Linked DNA regions of Homo sapiens: regions 2 and 3 are each linked to region 1. The links are contacts of gene promoters, found by promoter capture Hi-C in human tissues and cell types (Jung and others, 2019). All regions are on one chromosome and are shown on one strand. The core of a region is centred on a gene start or on the middle of the fragment in contact, and the rest is flanking DNA. Distances in the headings are between cores, read along the strand shown.

Region 1 (2,700 bases), core at 3-2,502:
TGCCGGCCTGAAGGGCAGAGGGGCCCCATCCCGCCCCCCGCGCTAGTGTCGCCAGGCGGCGCCCTTCCACGAGCAGAACGGCCGCGCGGGACGCTTCCCGGGGCAAGGCCGTCCCCTCCCAAGCCCCCAACCCCCGGGCAGCGGACCGCAGGCCGCCTTCGGGAAAGGCTGCGAGATGCTGAGCGCGCGTTTTAACCCAACAGGAAAGCCGGGCGGAGGGGGAAGGCGCTTGGCCCGGGACTGCACACTGGGACTCCCAGTGCAGTGCTCCCCGCGGGGTCCTGGCCGCCGACTCCCGCCCCTGTGCCCCAGCCCCACGGCGCCCGGGAGACTCACCTTCTCCCCGGTCAGCACGTGCAGCCCCTCGCGCACCTTGGCAAAGGAGCCCTCGCCCAGCTTCCTGCTGCCGATGAGGTAGTTGCCCACGCGCTTGTGGTGCTGGAAGTCGCGGAGCCGCTCGCGGGGCACGCCGCTCACCCAGGCAGGCAGGAAACTTCCCTCGCAGGCCGCCGCGGGCCTGGCCGCGTCCTCCGCGCCGCCGCCGCCCCCAGGCGCCGCCGGCTCCCCCAGGAGCCCGTCCCCCGCCGCCGCCGGCATCGCGCTCGCCGCGGCCCGCGCGGCTCCTGCTCGTCTCCCGCGCTCGCAGCTCCTCCTCCCCAGGCTCTTCGGCTTCCCCGGCTTCTCCCGCCGCCGCCCTGGGCCCAGCCCCGCCTGGGTCTCCGCACCCAGAGCCCGGGGCCGCCGCGATCACGCCCCCCGCGCCGCCCAGCGAGGCGCGTAGACAATAGCGGCTGCCCAGGGGACGCGGGACCGGGGACCCCGCCCCCAAAAGTTCTTCCTCTTAGGGTCGCCCGGGCCCCTTTCAGGACACCAGGATCCCGCCCCGGGTCCCGTCCAGGAAGCTAATGACAGTCGCCCTGCTCGGGCGCGCGGGGTGGGGCGCGGTCCGGCGGCGCCTGGGTCCCGGGGTCCGGGTGCCTGGGTCCGGGAGCCCGGGTGCCTCCGCAGCCTCCGCCTCGCCGCCGCCGTCTGGCCCGCACGGGCTTGGGTCGGGCTCCCGCGATCGCTCCTAGCCGTGCGCTGGGCGGCCGCTCCCGCCGGAGAGAAGCGCGCGGCGGGCTGCCGGCGCCCTCTGGAAGGCAGCAGAAGAAAGCCCCATTCAGTTTGAATTTGCAGAAATTTAATCCGCTCGCGGGCGGCGGGAACAGATGCGAGCTCCACTCCGCAGCCCGTGCACTTTCAAATCCCTAGTAGCCCCTCCTTCCCCGCGCGCCACAGTCAAACTCGACCCTCGCTGGAGAGGGGAGGGCCCGGGGAGGGGAGCGGCGGAGTGGACGGAGAAGCCACCTGAGCGCCAGACAGGGAGAACCTGCGCGGCCTCGGAGGCGCGCGCTCCCGGGCCGCCCAGGTCGGGCCGCCTCCGGCTGCGCCTCTTGCCCGGATTCTGGGCTTGGGTTTTCTGGACCTTTCGGCGGTGAAATCCCCCACTGGCCGCACCCACCCGGGGCGGGGGGAAGGGGGAAGGCTCTCGAACTCCGTGGACTGTGAGTCGGGTTGCGTGCCCGGCCCTGAGTCCGCCACACAGTAGGGCCCCCTGGACCGGGGGTGGAAGGATAGATGGATGGCTGGAAGAAAGGGTGGGGAGGCGGCCAGGCGTCTGCCCGGGCTCGCACGCAGCCTGGTTGGCTGTGTTGGAGGAGGCGCAGCCACAGCAGTAATAGTAGCAGCAGCAATGTAGGAACCAGGGCGTTTGCTGCCTCTGCTTGTAGCTTACACCTTCTTTGCCTTCCATTGAAATGATGCCTGTGATTGCAGGAGGTGGACCGGCGCTCGCCTCTCTTCGATGCTTTTGTTCTGCAAGCGCTGTGACTGTGCTCATCGCATAAACAATTGCAACTGCCCTGACGACACTGGACCCTCTCCCAGGATCCCCAACGTCTTCTCAAACCGAAAATGAAGAATCTTGTGAGGGAGAAGGAGGAGGGTAGGTAGGAGGAGGCATTTACAAAATGCTACCTGTTGAGGTGCCCGCATTTGATGGAAACTTCACCCCGATCATGCAACATCAGAGCTGAAAGGAAGGATTTGGTCCTAACAAAGTTCCTTTCATTGTTTATTCCTGAGTAAACAAGTATGACATCGACCCATAGCAATGCTTTGAGATTGGGAGTGGGGGGTGGGGGAACAACAGCTGTCATCAATCCAGTGTCTGGGGGTCTCGCTGACCCATCTGAAGAGGGACGCAGAGAAATGCCTGCTTTCAATACATCTAATTTTAAATACGCTACTATATTCATCCACCTACCTGTTACAAGTCACCAGCCTCAGTTATTATGACGGAACATACTGCGTTTTCTGTTGTTCTGTCTCATTGTTCCCGTTTACCAATATTAAAGATACAGCTTAAAATGTTTTTCTTGCTGTGCTGAAGGGACTTCTTTGCTCCCACCGGCCTTGACTATTTCAGTAACGTTCATTCAATCCTTTTAATGTCTCTAATTCAGTAATCAAATCTTAACAGGACAGTTGCATGGGAGGGGAATGGTAACTAGCGTGGTGCCAGCAGAATAGATGTCCAGCAACTGTCTAAAGAATGAGGAATATGGAGCTCACTTTGGGGTAAAAACCACTCTGAGGCCGGGCGCGGTGGCTCACGCCTGTAATCCTAGCACTTTGGGAGGCCGAGGCAGGTAGATCACG
Region 2 (2,700 bases), core at 101-2,600, 37 kb before region 1:
CGTGGCTCCCAAAGGAAAGAATCCACGTCATGAGGATGCCTGCGCCACTCCCATCAGGCAGCCCACGGCTCCCTCGGCTTGACCCGCCTCCTCGTTGTTCCTCAGCAGCAGAAACAGGGGTGTTCCCTCCTGGGGATCTTGGCCACATAGCACTCCCTCAACCTCTAAGATCCTGACGAAATGTCAGCTCTCAGAGAAGCTTCCCTGACTCACCCACTTATAACCACATCATCTGGAGCTCACAACCCCTGTGCCCCGAGGCTATTTGTTCCATAGCACTTATCACCTCTGAAGTCCCACAGAACTGAGTGAGCATGGAATCTGCCTGACGCTTAGAAGCCCCAGAAGGGAAGAGATGGTCCCTCACTGACATGCTTACCACATCCAGAACAGCCCCCGCACACAGGCGGCGCTCAATGAGTATTTCTTGAATGAATGAATCCACGTGCAGTTGGAAGAAGAAGAATCTATTAACTATTTCAGAATCTGTTATGGGCTAAGTCGTGTCCTCCCCCAAAATTCCAGCCCCAATGTGATTGTACAGTTGACCTTCCATGGGTTCCAACCTCAGATCAGAAATGTTGGGGAAAATAATTCACAAAGTTCCAATAGGCAAAACTTGAATTTGCCGCATGCCAAGTGCTAAGTTGAATCCACGTGAATGAAGTGATGTGTAGGCATTGCATTAGGTATTCTAAGTAAGGTGGGGATGATTTAAAATATACAGGAGGATATGTATAGGATATATGCAAATATGACACTATTTGTTATCAAGAACTTGAGCATCCTTGGACTCTGGTATCAGAAGGAGATCCTGCCCAGCACTTTGGGAGGCAGAGGCAGGCAGATCACCTGAGGTTGGGAGTTCGAGACCAGCCTGGCTAACATGGCAAAACCCCGTTTCTATTAAAAATACAAAAATTAGTCAGGCGTGGTGGCGCATGCCTGTAATCCCAGCTACTTGGGAGGCTGAGGCACAACAATCACTTGAACCTGGGAGGCAGAGGTTGCGGTGAGCCGAGATCGCGCCATTGTACTCCAGCCTGAGTGATGGAGTGAGACTCAGTCTCAAAAAAAAAAAAAAAAGGATATCCTGAAACCAATCCCTGCAGATACAGAAAGATGGCTGTATTTGGAAACAGGGCCTTTAAACAGGGAAATAAGGTTAAATGAGGACATGAGGGTGATGCCCTAATCCAACAGGACTGGTGTCTTGATACGAAGAGAGAGACACCAGGGATGAGAATACAGAGGATGTCTGTGCGAAGACACAGTGGGAGGGCAGCCTTCAGTCAGCCAAGGAGAGGAGGCCTCAGGAGAAACCAAACCTACTGACCCCTTGATCTCAGGTTTCCAGCCTGCAGAACTCAGACAACATCAATGTCTGTTGTTGAAGGCCCCCCAGGTCTGTGTTATTTACTGTACTAGCCCCAGCAAACCAAAGCAGAACCTTTATGAAACCTTTATGATGGTTATTAGTAATAACAGAATGGCTTGCTTTGTAAATCTCATCATAAAAATTCAAACCTGGTTGACAGCACTGGAGGAAATGATTTGGGCAGGGTGGGCAAAGGGAAAGCCCCCAGAGCAATGAAGGAAATGACAAGGGCCTGAGGGCTCCCGGCTCCCGGCTCCAGCCCAAGCCTGAATTCCGCATAAAAGGGCTGAAAACTGTGGTGATTAGCATGACCCAGTGGGGAGTTTTGAAAATAAATTGGTTTCACGCCATCTTCCAAAGAAACGATGTGGGTAAATGCATCCGAGTGGAACGTGCTCCTGTGTGGACAATACTTATTTAACAGAAAGCAGAAAATAGCCTTTGCTGGCTTTATAATTAATTTCAGTGTTGCTCCGATTTGCAGAGAAACGATGCTAGACAGCAAACACACACATCCCTGTCTTTTACAGGGGCCCATTAATTGCTGCTATTTATGTAGCAGGGCTCAACTGCCTCTGACCCCTGGCTCCCCACTGGCCACCCTCCTGCTGCTGAGCTAAAATTCGCCTTTTTGTTGAGGGAAAAAGTTTCCTTCCCCAGTTTAAACAACAAAGCTCATTAGGACTGATCTTGGCGATGCTAACAGAACCAGGTGCTGGGCAAAGGCAAAAAGCAAGACTAAGGAAAAAACAATGGCAGCTCCCAACGCAGGGCTGGGAAACCCTCCCACGCCCACCCAGGGGAGTTCTCAAGCCACTTTCCCGGGGATCCTCTGCGCCTGGGCTCCAGCCCCAATTCAGTAAGCAGATCACCCTGGAAACGTATCCTGCTGGTGAGAGACTAGAAACTGGTTCCTGCAAGAGAGGAATGCAAAACGGAGAATATTGAGATAGCAAGGTAGAATTGCTGGGCTGTACAGACAACGGTGGGGCTTGTGCAATTGCTGGAATTCTTATCAGAAGGCTGCTACTTAGTTAAAATATGTGTTCTTCCTTTGTCCAAGATGCATTTATTATCCACAAGGATAAAATTAACCCTCAGTCCCTCCGGAGTGCTGCCCACTTACAGTGCACAAAACTCGGGAATCTTAAGGGGAGATGAGTATTGTTAAAACAGGTAATGCTAGCATCCTGTCTCTTTGGTTTGGAAAAGTGTCAAAAGGGCCCAGTTTACAAGTTTTTTGAGACCGTGTGTGATTCATCTTGGTATGCCCCAAAATATTTAACTCCTGAAACACAACTGATAAATATATTGGCAAAAAA
Region 3 (2,700 bases), core at 53-2,552, 35 kb after region 1:
AAGACTGGAGAGAACAGAATTGTCCAATGTCACACAACTAGTTACTGAGAAAGCTAAAATTAGACCATCTTCTGATTCCCACGCCATGGCGTTTTCCATGATACAATGGAGAAAGGAGAAAATTCCACTATTTGACAGTTGCCTATTCTACCCACTATGACATGGAAGCAAAAATGATGAATGAGCGAGAAACAGAAGAGAACATCTAACTGAGCTCTGTATTTTATCTAAGTCTAGGACTTGATATAATTCCCCTTTTCTTTCTTTGGGGTTGCTTGAGCAAAGCTGACATAAATAGCTCTCTATGTTCTTCTAATACTGGAGGGCACCACACAGAGCAATAAGCGTATGCACCATCAGAAACAGTATGCAAATTTGAATGTGAAGAAAACTCATTTGATTCTCCATCTGTCTCCCTGTTTAATTACTTAGCCATAAATTAGCACTTTTTACTAACTACATTCAGCAAATATGATCAATTCGCTGACTTTAATGTCAAATAAGGAATACTTTTGACTTTCAAGTATTTAGCCTTTTAATTTACATTCACATTTTGAAATACAAATTAACTGTTGAAATCTACCCAAATACAATGTTGGAGGACTTTTTTTTCTCTCTTCTCATTAATGACATTTCTTTGATTGAATCATTGATGGGATGCTTTTTTTGAAACTTGGTTTTTCCCCCTAAAGGGCAAGAAAAGAAAGCACTTTCAACATTTAAAGGAAATAATTAGGAAACATATCATGAATAGTGTGAACTCGGGGCCTTAAAGACACAGCGCCTGTAAGCCTGCTCACATTTGCTTATAGCCTAAGGCCACATCCTGCCATCTCTACTTCACCAGGCACCAAGCCACCATCCAGGCCCAAATGGAAAAATAGATAGGACGAGACAATTTCTGGTTATTCTATATTCTTAGAATAGCAGGGATGAGAACAGGCCCTCAGAGGTAGAAACTGCTTAAGAAAATAGATAATAAAATAACCATATAAGTGTATATACCTAAGCAGTACACTGATATCTTGCTGCTCCTTATTCCTTGCCAACAAAATTCCAATTTTATTTAGGAAGGTAATGTGCTCAGCTTCAGGCAATGGATCAGGATTGGTTAAAGCCAATCATGACAATCCTATTCCCTAAGGTTCCAGTTCCTTTTCACCTACAGAGAGCCATGGGATACAATTCTAATTAACAAAAGATAATGGAAAGTCTTCTAGGGCTTCCTGGAAAGCTTCTGTCTTCTCAATATAAGCTCTGGGGTGCTTCTCCCACCCTTTCCTGTTATGAATGTAGATGTGATATTTGGCGTGGTGAAGCCATCTTGAGATCGTGAGAGAAAGACAAAAAGTACTGCAAGGATGCCAGCCCTGAGATCTTTGAGTGCCTGAACTAATGCCAAGAGCCACCTACCTTTGGACTTCTCGTTGTGTGAAAAAATAAATCTTCTGTTACATGCAACTGAATGCATTCCTAGCCTATATATATATATAGCCTATATATACATATATATGTATATATAGGCTATATATATATACACACACACACATATATATATGTGTGTATATATATGAGCTGCAAAATATATTTAACTACAAAAGTGATAAAGTACATTAACAAAAGGGGAAAACTTACTGGAAATCTAAGAGCTAGTTCAGTGTCTGCTTTCCAACTGAGCCTCTAAACACCCAGCTGGTCCAATTTCAGTTCCTCAATTGGATGCTGATTCATCAACCCACTAAGACAGTGGGTTCTAAAGTGTGGTCTCCAGGCTGGAACAAATGCAAGAGAGATGTGTTGGTATTTTGAATGTTGTGTTCAGCCAGCTCTGGGAGAAAAGATAGGCAATGAACATTCTGACTGATTTCCCTGCTCCAACCTCACCATGTACAGAGTGTTGAGAAGTTATTAAGCCTCCTGGCTAAGGAGATTCAAGGTTAGCACCTCTGGAACCAGGTAAGAAGCCTTCCCAATAATTCTAATAGTCCAGGAAAAAAAAAAAAAAACAGAGTTGTACCCAAAGTGATCTACAGATTCCAAGCAGTCCCTGTCAAAATTGCAACAAACTGTTTTGCAAAAATAGAAAAACTGATCCTCACATTTATATGGAATTCCAAGGGGGCTCTGGATAGCTAAAATAATCTTGAAAAAAAAAAGAACAAAATCAGAGGGCTCAAGTCCCAATTTCAAAACTTACTTCTAAAACAAAAGTAATCAAAGCAATGTGGTACTGGCATAAGGGTAGACATATAGACCAATGGAAAAGAATTAAGAGTCCAAAAATAAATCCATGCATATATGGCCAATTGATTTTTGACAAGGATGCCAAGACCATTCAATAGGAAAATAACAGTCTCTTCAACAGATGGTGCTGGGACAACTGAATTTTCACATGTAAAAGAATGAATTGAAGTTGGACCCTTATCTTACACCATATAAAAAAGCTAACTCAAAATAGATCAATGACCTAAATATAACAGCTAAAACAATAAAACTCCTCAAAGGAAATATAAAGGTACATTTCTGAGCCCTTGAATTTGGCAATGGCATCTTAGATATGGCACCAGAAACACAAGCCACAAAAGAAAATATAAATAAACTAGACTTGATCAAAATTTGAAACTTTTGTTCATCAAAGAACATTATCAAGAAAGTGAAAAGACAGCCAACAGAATGGGAGAAAATATTTGCAAATTACTT

What was found. The method cuts DNA at HindIII sites, captures the fragments that hold promoters and counts their contacts. A contact is called where the count stands out against the background at its distance.
Region 2: a contact is called between a fragment that was not itself captured here and the fragment with the promoter of HUNK in region 1, in 1 of the 25 tissues and cell types used here (thymus).
Region 3: a contact is called between a fragment that was not itself captured here and the fragment with the promoter of HUNK in region 1, in 2 of the 25 tissues and cell types used here (hippocampus and spleen).

Annotation. Positions count from the first base shown.
Region 1 is chr21:31,871,572-31,874,271 of GRCh38, reverse strand. HUNK (hormonally up-regulated Neu-associated kinase) reads right to left here and starts at 1,252. Exons shown (of 11, transcript NM_014586.2): 1 at 337-1,252. The coding sequence starts at 597. RefSeq lists silencers at 1-158, 1,085-1,134. The HindIII fragment of the contact is 17,092 bases long and covers 1-2,700 here.
Region 2 is chr21:31,908,877-31,911,576 of GRCh38, reverse strand. The region is part of intron 1 of HUNK (hormonally up-regulated Neu-associated kinase); the gene reads right to left. Among named protein-coding and RNA genes, the nearest start is that of HUNK, 37 kb to the right of the region's middle. The HindIII fragment of the contact is 6,276 bases long and covers 1-2,700 here.
Region 3 is chr21:31,836,846-31,839,545 of GRCh38, reverse strand. No RefSeq gene overlaps it. Among named protein-coding and RNA genes, the nearest start is that of HUNK, 35 kb to the left of the region's middle. The HindIII fragment of the contact is 4,333 bases long and covers 1-2,700 here.